2 separate regions of the Homo sapiens genome follow, and region 2 is linked to region 1. Evidence: promoter capture Hi-C in 16 types of primary human blood cells and fetal thymus (Javierre and others, 2016). All regions are on one chromosome and are shown on one strand. The core of a region is centred on a gene start or on the middle of the fragment in contact, and the rest is flanking DNA. Distances in the headings are between cores, read along the strand shown. Region 1 holds the start of TRW-CCA3-3 (tRNA-Trp (anticodon CCA) 3-3). Region 2 holds the start of RANGRF (RAN guanine nucleotide release factor).

Region 1 (6,802 bases), core at 790-3,289:
AGGGATGTTGCTCTGCTTGTATTCAGTTGGCCATCTGTAGCTACCCTGTTCTTCCCAACTCTCCTCCCTAGCTAGAGCACCAGCCCTGGGAACACGGGGCTTTAGGTCTGCTTGAAGGTGAGGACGTGACTCCCACATGTAATCAGGAGAAAGGGACAGAGGAAGCCCCAGCCCCCACTGTGGCTATCCTGACTCCAGTGGCCACATCTCAGGTGCCAGGGGCTGTGGGAGCTTGTGCCGTCCTTGGCCAAACACCCCGCAGGCAAAGATGCACCCCTGCTGATGGAGAGCCTTCTGCTTCTGCCCTCTGGCCCTCTACCATACCACTTCCCCAGCCAGAACCGGCGTGCAGCTAGGAGGAATGGGTTGCACGGCGGAGGGGGTGAGGTGGGAGGCGTCTCACTGCTCTCAGGGTTCAGGTAGAATGTTGCTGGTTTTGAAGCTCACCTGTTGTGGAGTGTTCTAATCAGTTTTGGCTTTCTGAGTTTTTGTGGAATTAAAGTGCTGCTGCTGCGAAGGCTGAGGCTGAGTCTGTGTGGGGTTGCAGTGATTAATAAGCCAAAGGAATGGGAATGAGGGTCGGTGTTGTTCACGCAGCTCCCTTGGGGCTGGTGCTGGGAGTGGGGTGGGGGTGGAGATGTCTCAGGCTCCGTGGGGAAAGATATGGTTCTTGCTCTTAAGCATCTGGTCTGAGGGGAAATGTGAGGACACAGATAATCACTCACAGGGGCCCAGAGATCCGGTAACCACAGAAACGTAAAAAAGATGCTCTAGAAGAGAAGGGGAAGAAATTGTCTTCTCAGGTCCTCATGAATAGGCAGGGGCTGGGTGGATTGGACGGACATCTTACCTCTGGGGGAAGACTGGGAACACTTGTCAGCTCTATTCCTGACCATTTCCCACACTCTGCAGATCAGTGCCACGTGGTTTGAGACAAATTTGTCCCAAAGCCTTTTGTTTACAGTTCACACAGTAAGTTCAGGAGCCATATATTGTGGCCATAAGATGTAGAAGCAAAGATCACGAAACAACCCCGGTTTCTCTCAATCCCTTCCTCTCAAGACACGCCCACTTTAGAATGCGCTCCAATACGCTCCCTGTTCTGGGATTGGAAATGTGGCGCTGTTTTTCCCCAGAGACGTTACTTGGCTCTAAAACGGAGTGCAGTAATCGTACTTTCGAAAAGTTTCAATCCTGGCCCGTACGGGGATCGAACCCGCGACCTTGGCGTTATTAGCACCACGCTCTAACCAACTGAGCTAACCGGCCAGTTGCTACGAAAAGCTTGAAATAAATCTATTTAGTTACAATACTGTTCAGTTCTCTCGGGAAAAACCTTCAGTTGTGGGACTGCTTTATGAGAAATGAAAACAGAACACAAACACTGACTAACTGAGCACCTAGACGAGTAACAGACAGTACTGGCAAGTACAGATGATGCGACTGGTGTAACTGCAGGTCGAGGCGCAAGTACCATGTGCACGAAGAGCAAAAACCCAACAGCGTGTGGCAGATGCACCGGGAGAGGATAGATGGGTACGTGAGTAAACCATGTAGGATGGAAGTTATGAGTTTCTGCAACTGTCCTCACAATGTTTAATGTTGGCAAAAGCGTGGGGGAAACACGGAGGCACCGCTGGGATTCGAACCCAGGATCTCCTGTTTACTAGACAGGCGCTTTAACCAACTAAGCCACGGCGCCGCCGGAAAGACGCTTAGGATCTTGTTTCCTTGGCCAGGTCAGCTGAATTGCAGAGAATGAATACAAAGATGTCACAAAAAGTCGGCTGCATACGAAAATGAGGAAAGGATGGATGCAGCTGGGAAAGACACGAAAACTGAATGGAGTGACTGGGGGTAACAAGAGAAATCCTAGTTTTGATGCTACAAAACTGAGCACAGGACTTCCTTAGCCGACGAGGATGGGATTCGAACCCACGCGTGCAGAGCACAATGGATTAGCAGTCCATCGCCTTAACCACTCGGCCACCTCGTCTGCAGACAGCCCTCGCTGTTCAGACTGCCCTCCGCATCTCACTTCTCTGGAACCTGAACTTCCTGCAGGTGGGGCTCGCCTACGTCGTGAAGGCTGCACATTTGGAAGGAATCCGCTCGGCACTGGAAAGAGAACTCGTAGATCAGAGACCGACTTCTTCCATGCGTGATGGCCCGACCCTCGTCCCTCTGCTGAGAGGTCTAGAACTGCTCCTGTCTTAGGACCCGCGTTATCCGCCCAGAATTACGGTACCCGGATCCATCGCAAAAATCCCCGCGCGATGGTTGGGCTGTCCAGACGGGGCGGCCTTGGAACTTCCAGAAACCCCTCTCCTTCAGGCCCCAAGGAGATATTGCTTCTTCAATGACCTGAACGCTGAAGCTCGACCGTAGTTTAAAATAAAGGGGGTTAATAAAAACCGAAGAAAAATAGCCGCTGACCCCGACGTGATTTGAACACGCAACCTTCTGATCTGGAGTCAGACGCGCTACCGTTGCGCCACGAGGTCGGCCGGCCACTCGGCAGCTCAGGTCTCCCCATGACCACTGTGCGCCCTGGAGGCCAGGGTCATGAATCGAGGCATGGATGGGCACCTAGGGCATTTCTGCCCCTCTGAACAGCTGCGGGGTCGTATCTGCGCTCGCCGAGCCAGCCCTGTAGGACGAGCCGGGCGAGTGGCACCCCAGGGCAGTGACTATGGGATCCAGGCTTAGCGGTCTGTCCCTCCCGGCCCCCGGCGTCCTGCCAACGCCCAGATAGAGGGTCCCGAGCTGATCGCCAGGGGATCCCAAAGCTTACAGCCCAGTGGGGACGGACCTGCCTAGAAACGGATGGAAGGATGGGAACCAGACGGAACGTGACAGAGCAGTGCCAGAGCCTAGGGCACCTGAAGTGGTAAGAGATTTGCTCCCCCAGCAGCAGGTCTCCTCCCCGGTTGCACTTTTGTAATTGCCTGCGGAGACTTCGAATGTACCCACGCACAACCCCCGGGTTCGGAGATTCTGATTTAAACGGCCCAGGGAAGAGCTCTGAGATCGGTATGTAAAACTTTTGAAAAATATCGGTATTTCAACTGTTGGAGGGCAGATAAATTTTGTCTATATTTTGATGAGTTTTGACAAATACATACACCTGCGCAAATCACAACTCTTTAAAAGCATATAGGACATTTCCCTCTCTCAAGGTTCTTGCATGTCTGTCCCTTCTCTACGGATCCCCACTCCTCCCTTGCCAGAGGCAATCTCTGTTCTAATTTTAACCACCACAAACATCAGTATTTCTTTTTTTTTTTTTTTTTTTTTTTTTTTTTTGAGACGGAGTTTCGCTCTTGTTGCCCAGGCTGGAGTGCAATGGCGCGATCTCGGCTCACCGCAACCTCCGCCTCCCGAGTTCAAGAGATTCTCCTGCCTCAGCCTCCCGAGTAGCTGGGATTACAGGCATGCGCCACCATGCCCGGCTAATTTTGTATGTTTAGTAGAAACAGGGTTTCTACATGTTGGTCAGGCTGGTCTCGAACTCCCGACGTCAGGTGATCCGCCCGCCTCGGCCTCCCAAAGTGCTGGGATTACAGGCGTGAGCCACCATGCCCGGCCAACATAAGTTTTTTGTTGTTGTTTTTCTGTTTTTGTTTTGTTTTGTTTTGTTTTGTTTTTTTGAGACGGAGTCTCACTCTGTCGTCCAGGCTGGAGTGCGGCGGCGCGACCTTGGCTCACTGCAACCTCCGCCTCCCGGATTCAAGCAAGTCTGCCTCAGCCTCCCGAGTAGCTGGGATTACAGCGCCCACCACCGCGCCCAGCTATAATTTTTGTATTTTTGGTGGTGACAGGGTTTCACCATGTTGGCCAGGCTGGTCTTCAACTCCTGATCTCGTGATCCGCCCTCCTCGGCCCCGCAAAGTGCTGGGATTACAGGCGTGAACCACCGCGCCCGGCTGTTTCTAGAAGAATGAAAGGAGTTCAATAGGCCGAGATGGCACAAGAGGTCCTGCCTGTATCTCATTCCTTTCCATCCAAGCCAAATTTCTACACAGTGGCTCTCTCGAAAGTTATCAGGGACCACAGAGATGTCAAAGCCAACAGGCTTTCTCAGGCCTGGCCTTAACCGACTCCAGGCAACATCTTCTCCATGAGCCTCATTTCCCATGGTTGTCTTGACACTAGTCTGCTGGCCCTTCCTAACTGGCTCCCCGCTCCAGTCTCTTTTTCTTTTTTCTTTTATAAATTTTTTTGAAACGGAGTCTCACTCTGTCGCCCAGGCTGGAGTGCTGTGTGGCGCGTTCTCGCTCGCCGCAACCTCTGCCTCCCGGGTTCAAGCGATTTTCCTTCCTCAACCTCCCGAGTAGCTGGGATTACAGGCGTGGTGCCGGTTAATTTAATTTTTTTTTTTTAAAGTAGAGACCGGGATTCACCATGTTGGAGAGGCTGGTCTCGAATTGCTGACCTCAGATGATCCACCCGCCTCGAGCTCCCAAAGGGCTGGGATTACAGGCGTGAGCCACCGCGCCCAGCTCCAATCTCTTTTTCTGTTCTCCCTGTAAATCCTGGTTTTCCTCGGGTGAGGTTTTCTCTCCTCATGCTACACATGTTCTACGGATTCAGCTATTTCCTGCTTGCTAAGGGCTCCTGAATCTCGCTCCCACCTCTGGACTCAGATGTGTAGTGCCTGCTGATACCTTCACTTGACCCTGCCATACTTCCTTCCAGTCTTTCTGCACTCCCAGAGAGTGGCCAGGCCCAGGCTGGGGGATGCATCCTTGATTCTTCCCTCCCCCTACCGTCTTACTTCCAGTCACCACATCCTGTCAATTCCATTTCCTCAATAATCCCCCTGTCAACCATCCTTCCCCATCCCACTGACAACCCCTCAGCCTCTCTTGCTGGATTGTTGTAGCAGGCTCCTCTCTAATCTCCCTGCCACCCGAATAGTCAGATAATCGTCTTTTTCTTTTTTTTTTTTTTTTTTTTGAGATGGAGTCTGGCTCTGTCTGGAAGAAGAGGAGGAGGAGGAGGAGACGGAGCCGGGCATGGTGGCTCACGCCTGTAATCCCAGCACTTTGGGAGGCCGAGGCGGGTGGATCACCTGACGTCGGGAGTTCTAGACCAGCCTGACCAACATGTAGAAACCCTGTTTCTACTAAACATACAAAATTAGCCGGGTGTGGTGGCGCATGCCTGTAATTCCAGCTACTCGGGAGGCTGAGGCAGGAGAATCTCTTGAACTCGGGAGGCGGAGGTTGCGGTGAGCCGAGATCGCGCCATTGCACTCCAGCCTGGGCAACAAGAGCGAAACTCCGTCTCAAAAAAAAAGAAAGAAAGCAAGCTTAGGCACCAACCAGAAGAAGCTCCCACCGACCAAAATTGGGACAATTTGAACATCAAAAAGAATAACTGCAATGGATTGAAATACACAAAAGATGTTAAAATGTACAAGTTCATAATGATATTAAAAACAACTAATTACTTTTTCAAGATGCTAGAGAACCAACTCATTTTTCTGAAAACTGGTAAATCATAAGAAAAAACCCACACATTTATCCTGCCTTTCCTGTATGACCTGTATCTCATGGTAAACAAATTGATGATGGCAAGTTCTTACTGCAGAATGACAGAATTAGGACATCCCAATTTTGCAACTCCTAATGAAATAATAGAGCTAGGCAGTGATGATCAACTAAACCATTAGGTGAAAAACGGACGGGGAATTTTATAATTGTTGCCTAGTCTGACTACACCTGAACCCAATGCTCAGCCTAAACACTAGAAAAACAGGGAAAAGCAGGCGTCCTGATGCAATGGAATCAGGAGAACAAACCGTCACTCATGATGTGTTTTTACCAGAAAACTGAACGTGAGACTAACCAACCACTGGATCTAAGAACCAGTTTACAGGACATGCAGGGCATGGAGGAACATGTTAAATCACATCACAAGAATAAGGCCCAGAAATGGCTCAATGCCTTCAACTGATAAATTGCAAGAAAAGAAAAGAAGGAGAAAGGAGGTGAGGGGGTAGAGAGGAGGCAGGACCCAAGATGAGCGAGACATGACAACCAGGTGCAATGTGTGGACTTTATTTGGACCCAGATTCAAACAAACTGTAAAAGAAAAAAGAAGTGTGTAGGAGACACTTGGGCAATTTGAACTGTTTGATGACGTCTAGGATTTGCTTCAAAATAACCTGGTGTGTGCCATGAGGGAGGGTATACCTGAAACAAAGTTGGCCATGTGTTGATAATTGTTGAAGCAGAATAGAAGTGTTCATTATCTCCCCTCCCCTCGGCTCCCCCATCCTTCCCTCTCCCCACTCCCTCACCTTTCCCCCTCCCCTCCCCTCCCCTCTTTTTGAAGGAGTCTTGCCCTGTCACCCAGGTTGCAGTGCAATGGCACGATCTCAGCTCACTGCAACCTCCACCTCTCAGGTTCAAATGATTCTGCTGCCTCAGCCTCCCGATTAGCTGGGATTACAGGCACCTGCCACCATGCAGCTAATATTTGTATTTTTAGTAGTGACTGGGTTTCACCATGTTGGCCAGGGTCTCGAACTCCTGACCTCGTGATCTGCCCACCTCGGCCTCCCAAAGTGCTGGGATTACAGGCATGAGCCACCGCACCCGGCTATTTTCTTTATTTTGTCATGTTTGAATTTGTCCATGATAAAAAAACGATTTTTAACTCCTTTTATTAAGAGTTCAAATCTTAGTACTTGTGGGTCCCAGTCCTGGAGTGAGTAGTCACTTGGGGGGACACCTCATCACCAGCAGTACCTCCTATGGCCACTGGCTGGCTCTAAATATCGGTTTTGTGAGCA
Region 2 (6,802 bases), core at 1,554-4,053, 100 kb before region 1:
CGCTAACCGAGATTGGCCAGAAACATGGTCTGGTGGGGTTATGGCGTGGGGCTCTGGGCGGCCTGCCCCGAGTTATCGTCGGTTCCTCCACCCAGCTGTGCACCTTCTCATCCACCAAGGACCTCCTGAGCCAGTGGGAGGTACTGCCTGGGAAATGGGTGGGTCTGTTTCGGGAAGGGGGGAAGGGGAGGGCAAGCTGCACTAGGCCCTGGAGGGGATGGTGCCCAACATTCACAGGTGAGGGAGTGGCAGGAGGGCTTGGAGGTCAACTCTTTAGACCCTTCCCACAGTTCTCTTGTCACTTCCTCCCAGAAGGGGTACCTGAGCCTTCAGGGTACCCTGGCCTTCCTCCTTCTCACTGTTTTTGCACTGTTATAACTGGTGCAGTGGAAGCTCCCCCAGTTACCAGCATCTGTGTCCCCAGGGCAGGGACTGTCCTGTCCTTGGGGTGTAATAGTTGGCTGGTTGACAACGCTCTTCCTCTCTACCCCCTTAGATCTTTCCTCCCCAGAGCTGGAAGTTGGCGCTGGTGGCTGCCATGATGAGTGGCATTGCAGTTGTCTTGGCCATGGCACCCTTTGATGTGGCCTGCACAAGGCTCTACAACCAGCCCACAGATGCACAGGGCAAGGTAAGGAAGTGCTCTGGGATGCAGGCGGGAAGCAGGGGATGGGGAAGGCAGATTGCGGGTGCAGGTGGGATAGCCTGAAATGCAGCCTGTAGAGGTGCTGCCCCTGGTGGGCTCTGACAAACTCCTTCTCTGTGCTCTCCCTCCCTCTCTGACACACTCTCAGGGCCTCATGTACCGGGGGATACTGGACGCTCTGCTGCAGACAGCTCGGACCGAGGGCATTTTTGGCATGTACAAGGGTATAGGTGCCTCCTACTTCCGCCTCGGCCCCCACACCATCCTCTCCCTCTTCTTCTGGGACCAGCTGCGCTCCCTCTACTACACAGACACTAAATAACAGCCGCTTTCCCAGTCTCCACCAAATGAGCACTCCTTGGCCACTTGTGCCTCCACCACTATGTCCTGGTGACTACTGATTAGGTGACCTTTCATCCATCCATGGGGGACAGCCAACCCCACTCCCCATCTGTTCTCAGGGTTGAATCACTACAAGAGATGAGTTTCCCTTCTTTCCTTGGGTGTTGCTTTAAACCTTCCCTACCCATTCCCTGGGTAACTCACACCCCTCTCTCAGGGCTGAACGAGTCATCCCAAAGTGTATTTCCTCCCACTCACCACTGCCACCCTTGAGTCCCTCCTGCTCCCATGCACAGTTTTAAACTCCTCCCTCCAAAACCAAAGGGAATCGAGAGACCCAATTCCCAGGCGTCTGGGACCCAGGTGTCCTGTTAGATTCAAAGGCACAGAGATTATATTGATTATAAAGCAAGTTTATTCTGAAGAGGGATTGTCTTATGTTTACGCACAGGGAAGAAATAAGAGGAAACCCTCTTTTCAACCTCTTTTCCCCCTCACAGAACCGAGTCCCCAAGTTCTCAGCAACATCATGCAGTGCTTCAGCGCCTTTACTGGGGACCAAAGATGTTAGGATCGTGAAGGGTCAGACTGGTCACCAGCTGTTCAAAGTCACCCAGGCTCCAGGGTGCAGGTGACAGATTTTCGGGGCCAAGAGATGACCTGTTGTCAGGGCTTGGGGTGGGGGAACAGATGGAGACAGAACATCATCCAGGCCTGAGGTTTGGAAATTGCCAATTCCTGTTCCCCAGAGGACCTGGGTATCAGTTACCCCAAACCTCTGGCCCACTCCTGCTTCCTTGGAGGATCCCACCAGTGAGTCTCCCTGTTCTGTCCCTCCCAGCCCGATTCTCCTGGGAACCCAGTCATGAGATACCCGCCCGTTCCTTCCTCCTTACGGGGGCTGATTGAAGGTAAGCAAGAGATCAGTCTGGTACTGGGGCAGCCTCAGCAAGGCCTGATGAAGTGTCACGTCCTTTGCTACCTAAGGGGATCAGAGTCAGGATGCTTACCTGGATCTCTGCGTCCCCGCTACCGCCCTTCCAGGACATTACACACTCTCGGGCCCTCACCTGCTGGTTTTCCTTAGCTATCTGCTGCTTGCCAGAGAGGACCCAGGCTTCTTGACAGCGGCCCCTCAGGGCCAGGTTCTCCAAACTGAGAGGCTGAACAGACTCCACATGGACAGCCCTAGCCCCCTGCACGCCACCAACATCCTCAAAGTGGTACCTGGAGTAGGGAAGCGGGGTCAGGAAGGGACATCTCTGGTCGCCTCCCCGGGAGCATCTTTAAGTTGCAGGCCTGGCTCCCGGCCCGTGCGTGGTCTCACCGCCCGGATTAACCGTCGGCCGCGGGCCCCGCCCACTGGTCCGACCCCGCCCCTGCCATTGGCCAGCCGGGGGCCATTCCCTCACCGCGCAGCCGCTTCGCCCCGTACGTGGGCCTGCAGCTCGAGAAGTTCCACTATCAGGCTCTGGTCCGTCACGGGATGGCAGAAAACTTCTTGATTGTCCGGGACCGGTCGGAGGTCGCTGGAGTGAGGCGAGGCAGACCCTGGTTGACCCCGGTCTCTTCCCACAACCCACCCAGTCAGCCGCCCCTGGGCGCCCCGGCCTTCTCACCTTACGTCAATGGCCCCCATGGGGAGGATGGCGGAAAAGGCGCCCCCGAACAGCGGGCAGTCTCTCGTGGGCTCCATGGGTCTGAGGCTGGGTTATGGGCATTAGAAAGGTTTAAAAGAAGTCCACATTGGGTCACGTGGCATCGGCTCCCTGGGTTTCGCAGCTGCCACCGCCACCCGGGTCTGGCTTAGCTCCCGGATCCTTTAAGATTTGGCTCCGCCCTGCGCTCTCGTTGGCCAATCGGCGCCAAGACCCTGGGGGCGGGGGTCAGCGGCTTTGCTCCGGAAGCCGCGCTCTTAGGAGTGCGCCTGGCGGGACGGTGGGGTCTGCCTTGGGGTTGGACTTAGGGTTAGGGTCTATGTCGCCCCCGGTGGTCACGAGCATGCTCCCGCCAGCCTCCTCTTGATTGATTGATTGATTGATTGATTGACAGGTCTCGCTGTGTCGCCCAGGCTGTAATGCAGTGGCGCGATCACCGCTCACTGCAGTCTCCACCTCCAGGACTCAAGTGATACTCCTGCCTCAGCCTCTTGAGTGGCTCCTGCTCCCGCCACCACGCCCGGCTAAATTTTTAATTACTTGTAGAAATGGGGCGGGGTGGGGAGTGTCTCCCAATCTTGCCCAGGCTGGCCTCAAACTCCTGGACTCAAGCGATCCTCCCGCCTCGGCTCCCTAAGTGCTGGAATTACAGGCGAGAGCCACAGCGCCTGGCCTCCTCGTCCTTTTCAAGTGGTCACACCTTCCAAGAAGGTCGCCTGAGACCCTCCTGAGGGGCAGGTGCTCGTCAAAGGGGCCCACGTCTAGGTAGGGTCTCTTGAGTCAGGAAAGCATAGTTTCACGGTGTTCTGGGCCTCTGAAAGAAGAATGGGCTGCCACCCAGACCGCTAATTCATAGATCTGCTGCTGGGAATTAGGGGAACAATGCGTCCAGGTTAGGATTCAGGTCTCACATCTTCCTGAAAGTGAGAGCCAACCTGGGTATTAGAAATCTAATTCCTCTCAAATATTTGCCTTGGGAATGCTCCCGGGCAGGTGCAACCCCACCCCCAGCTCCACACACCTGGACAGAAGCACAGATTAAACCCTCTTTTGTTTGTCTTTTACAGATTTGTTGTGTTCTTTAAGTTTTAACTTCACTATATCATTTCAGTTCATTTCTCTATTCATCTTTGATCCTCAGCACCCGGCACGGTGTTTAGAGCATAACAGACCTGATATATATTGGGTTTTTTTGTTTTGTTTTGTTTTTGAGATGGAGTTTCACTCTTGTTGCCCAGGCTGGAGTGCAATGGCATGATCTTGGCTCACTGCAACCTCCGCCTCCTGGGTTCAAGCTGTTCTCCTGCCCCAACCTCCCAAGTAGCTGGATTACAGGCATGCACCACCACACCCAGCTAATTTTGTATTTTTAGTAGAGATGGAGTTTCTCCATGTTGGTCAGGTGAGTCTCGAACTTCCGACCTCAGATGATCCGCCTGCCTTGGCCTCCCAAAGTGCTGGGATTATTACAGGCGTGAGCCAGCGTGCCCAGCCCAGACCTAATATATATTGTTAAGTGATTGAATAAACTCAATGCAAATGTCTGGAACCCAGGAGATCACCCATACCCTCATGGATTCTAGATGTCACCTACTTCCCAGCCAAGAATTGGGCAAGAGGACTCTGATCTTGAGGCCATTCCACAGGGTTCCAAGTGCTGACCATACCTCTGGACCCTAATGACTTAGTGAAATGAAGCCAAAGGGTACATATTTATTGGTCTCTTACCTTGCCAGGCCCTAATGTGAAGGGCTGGAGATACAAAGACATTTAGGACACAGCCCCCGATGCCTCACTGAAGGAACAGTGGAGCACACTTTGAGTCTTTTTTTGTTTTTTTTTTTGAGAGGCGGTCTCACTGTTGCCAAGACTAGACTGTAGTGGTGCAGTCGTAGCTCACTGCAGCCTCAACCTTGTGGGCTCAAGCCATCCTCCTGCCTCAGCCTCCTGAGTAGCTGGGACTACAGGCATGCACCACCATGCTCCGGTAATTTTTGTGTGTGTGTGTGTGTTTTATTTTAGGGATGGAGTCTCACTGTGTTGCCCAGGCTGGTCTCGGACTTCTGGTCTCAAGTGATCCTCCTGCCTTGGCCTCCCAAAGTGATGGGATTATAGGCATGCGCCACCATGCCTGGCCCATACTTTGAGTCTTAAAGTTTGACTCAGAATTCAGTAGGACATCCTAGGGGTATTCTAGCTGGGGGAACATCAGGAGCAAAAACTTGGAGATGAGAGGGCATATTTTGGAGAAAGCAAGTGTATCTGTTTGGCAAGGGAGGGTAGGATGGGAATGGGTGGCAGGGAGCTGCAAACACAGTCAGGTGTGCAGGGTTTTTGTAGCGCACACTAAGGAGCTTGACTCCTCATTTCTTACTATAGCCATCAGACTCCTCTCTGAGTCTCATTTCCTCATCTCTAAAATGCTGTTGGGGGGCCAGGCGCCGTGGCTCACACCTGTAATCCCAGCACTTTGGGAGGCCCAGGTGGGTGGATCACCTGAGATCAGGAGTTCTAGACCAGCCTGGCCAACATGGTCAAACCCTGTCTCTACTAAACATACAAAAAAAAAAAAAAACAAAGGAAGAAATCAGATATGGATGTAGTTGAGTCTGACCTATTTCTGGGTAAAGAGAGTAGAATAAGTTTGCTGTATGAGGAATTTGACAGAGCGGGGGCGTTACAGGCTCTAGAGGGAAAGAAGGACCCCAGCCATGGGAAACAAAAGGAGCCAGGTCAGAGGAGTCCACCCCATGATGCTTCTCTGGGATAATGAGTGACAGACCTCTCTGTCCCTCTCTCCTCCTTGCTGCCAGCCTGCTCTCCAGCTCCATTCCCCACCAGGGGCAATACTGGCTCTGGCTGCTTTGGGAGCAGTCAAGCAGGTAGAGTCCTTGGAAAGGGACCTACAGGGACATAGAAGTTAACAGGGTGCCTGCACCAGGCATAAGGGGGTGTGGAGGCCTGTTACATGGGCCCAGAGGAGGTCACGCCAGGTCAGGAAGGCTGAGAAAAAAGCCCCCCCAACTTCCTCATTTTGGGTGTCTGGCCTGTCTCATGTTCTCCCATGAGCCCTACGCAGCTGGGGACCCCTGGCCCTCCACAATTCTGTGGGCTCTTGGGGGCTGCTCAGCCAGACCTCCTCTGAATGAATGGGGTGGAAGGCCACCCTCACTTGGCAAATCCCCACGCTTGGCTCCACTTCCCCTTCTCCCTTCACCTTTTTTTTTGTGTGCCTGTCAATTCTGCTGGCCCTGCCACCTGTCGACTCCCTCAAGTGTTCAAATTCCAACTTCCCAAGGGACAGGATCCAACTGGGTCGATTAGTTGTTATTCAATCTGAAAGTACCTATTTGGCCGGCTCTCCTGCCTGGCCACTCCTCAGGCCACCACCCAAACACAAGGGAGATCTCTGGTCCAGCTGGCTGTGGCTAGGATGATAAGTATCAGGGGACAAATCTCAGTAGAGAGAAGGCCAGCAGCCACTTTTCTCAGGCGAATGTGAGGGTATGGCTCGCTGTCAGCCCACTGGTTGCAAGTAGGCCTGCAACTGATTGATTCTCTACACCTGGGACATTCCCTTATCCAATGCCCTGCATGCAGTTGATGCAGTTGTTTGCTATGGGGACAAGAGTCCCAGAGACTCTCCCCTTTAGGGCACCAAGAGATGGACTCAGATCAGAGAGACAACACCACACCCAAAGTCAAGCATTCCTTTGAGTTAGGACAATGAATATTTCTATTAAGCAGGGGTTTTCGTCCTTTTTTCTACTGTGGACTGCTTTGGCAGTTTTGTGAAGCCCATGATCCCCTATTCGGTGTAATGTTATTATTTTTATTTTTTCTGTGTTTTTGAGACAGGGTCTTATTCTGTCACCCAGGCTGGAGTGCAGTGGCATGATAACAGCTCACTGCAGCCTCAACCTCCTGGGCTTAAGCCATCCTCCCACCTTGGACTCTCAAAGAGATTACAGGCATGGGCCAGGTGCGGTGGCTCACGCCTGTAATCCTAGCACTTTGAGAGGCCTAGGTGGGCAGATTGCTTGAGCTCAGGAGTTTGAGACCAGCCTGGAAAACAAAGTGAGACTCTGTCTCTATTACCAAAAAAAAAAAAAAAAATTAGCCAGGCATGGTGGCATATGCCTGTAGTGCCAGCTAC

Evidence for each region. The method cuts DNA at HindIII sites, captures the fragments that hold promoters and counts their contacts. A CHiCAGO score of 5 or more calls a contact.
Region 2: the fragment with the promoter of RANGRF here is called in contact with a fragment that was not itself captured in region 1 in 5 of 17 cell types (total B cells, naive CD4 T cells, M0 macrophages and 2 more); the score reaches 6.9 in total B cells.

What each region holds. Positions count from the first base shown.
Region 1 is chr17:8,182,060-8,188,861 of GRCh38, reverse strand. It overlaps TRW-CCA3-3 (tRNA-Trp (anticodon CCA) 3-3), which reads right to left and starts at 2,504; the gene lies at 2,433-2,504. TRS-GCT4-3 (tRNA-Ser (anticodon GCT) 4-3) reads right to left here and starts at 1,996; the gene lies at 1,915-1,996. It overlaps MIR4521 (microRNA 4521), which reads right to left and starts at 1,917; the gene lies at 1,858-1,917. It overlaps TRT-AGT1-1 (tRNA-Thr (anticodon AGT) 1-1), which reads right to left and starts at 1,702; the gene lies at 1,629-1,702. It also overlaps TRI-AAT5-5, BORCS6 and LOC105371520. RefSeq lists enhancers at 654-703, 2,134-2,243 and silencers at 1,564-1,673, 1,924-1,973, 2,474-2,523. The HindIII fragment of the contact is 1,505 bases long and covers 1,287-2,791 here.
Region 2 is chr17:8,284,671-8,291,472 of GRCh38, reverse strand. It overlaps RANGRF (RAN guanine nucleotide release factor), which reads right to left and starts at 2,803. Exons shown (of 5, transcript NM_016492.5): 1 at 2,608-2,803; 2 at 2,401-2,517; 3 at 2,059-2,215; 4 at 1,885-1,970; 5 at 1,386-1,660. The coding sequence starts at 2,684. The coding sequence ends at 1,537. It overlaps SLC25A35 (solute carrier family 25 member 35), which reads left to right. Exons shown (of 5, transcript NM_001320870.2): 3 at 1-140; 4 at 497-631; 5 at 795-1,412. The coding sequence ends at 968. RefSeq lists enhancers at 2,081-2,150, 2,431-2,550, 2,911-3,140, 6,172-6,672, 6,673-6,802 and a silencer at 2,301-2,350. The HindIII fragment of the contact is 37,216 bases long and covers 1-6,802 here.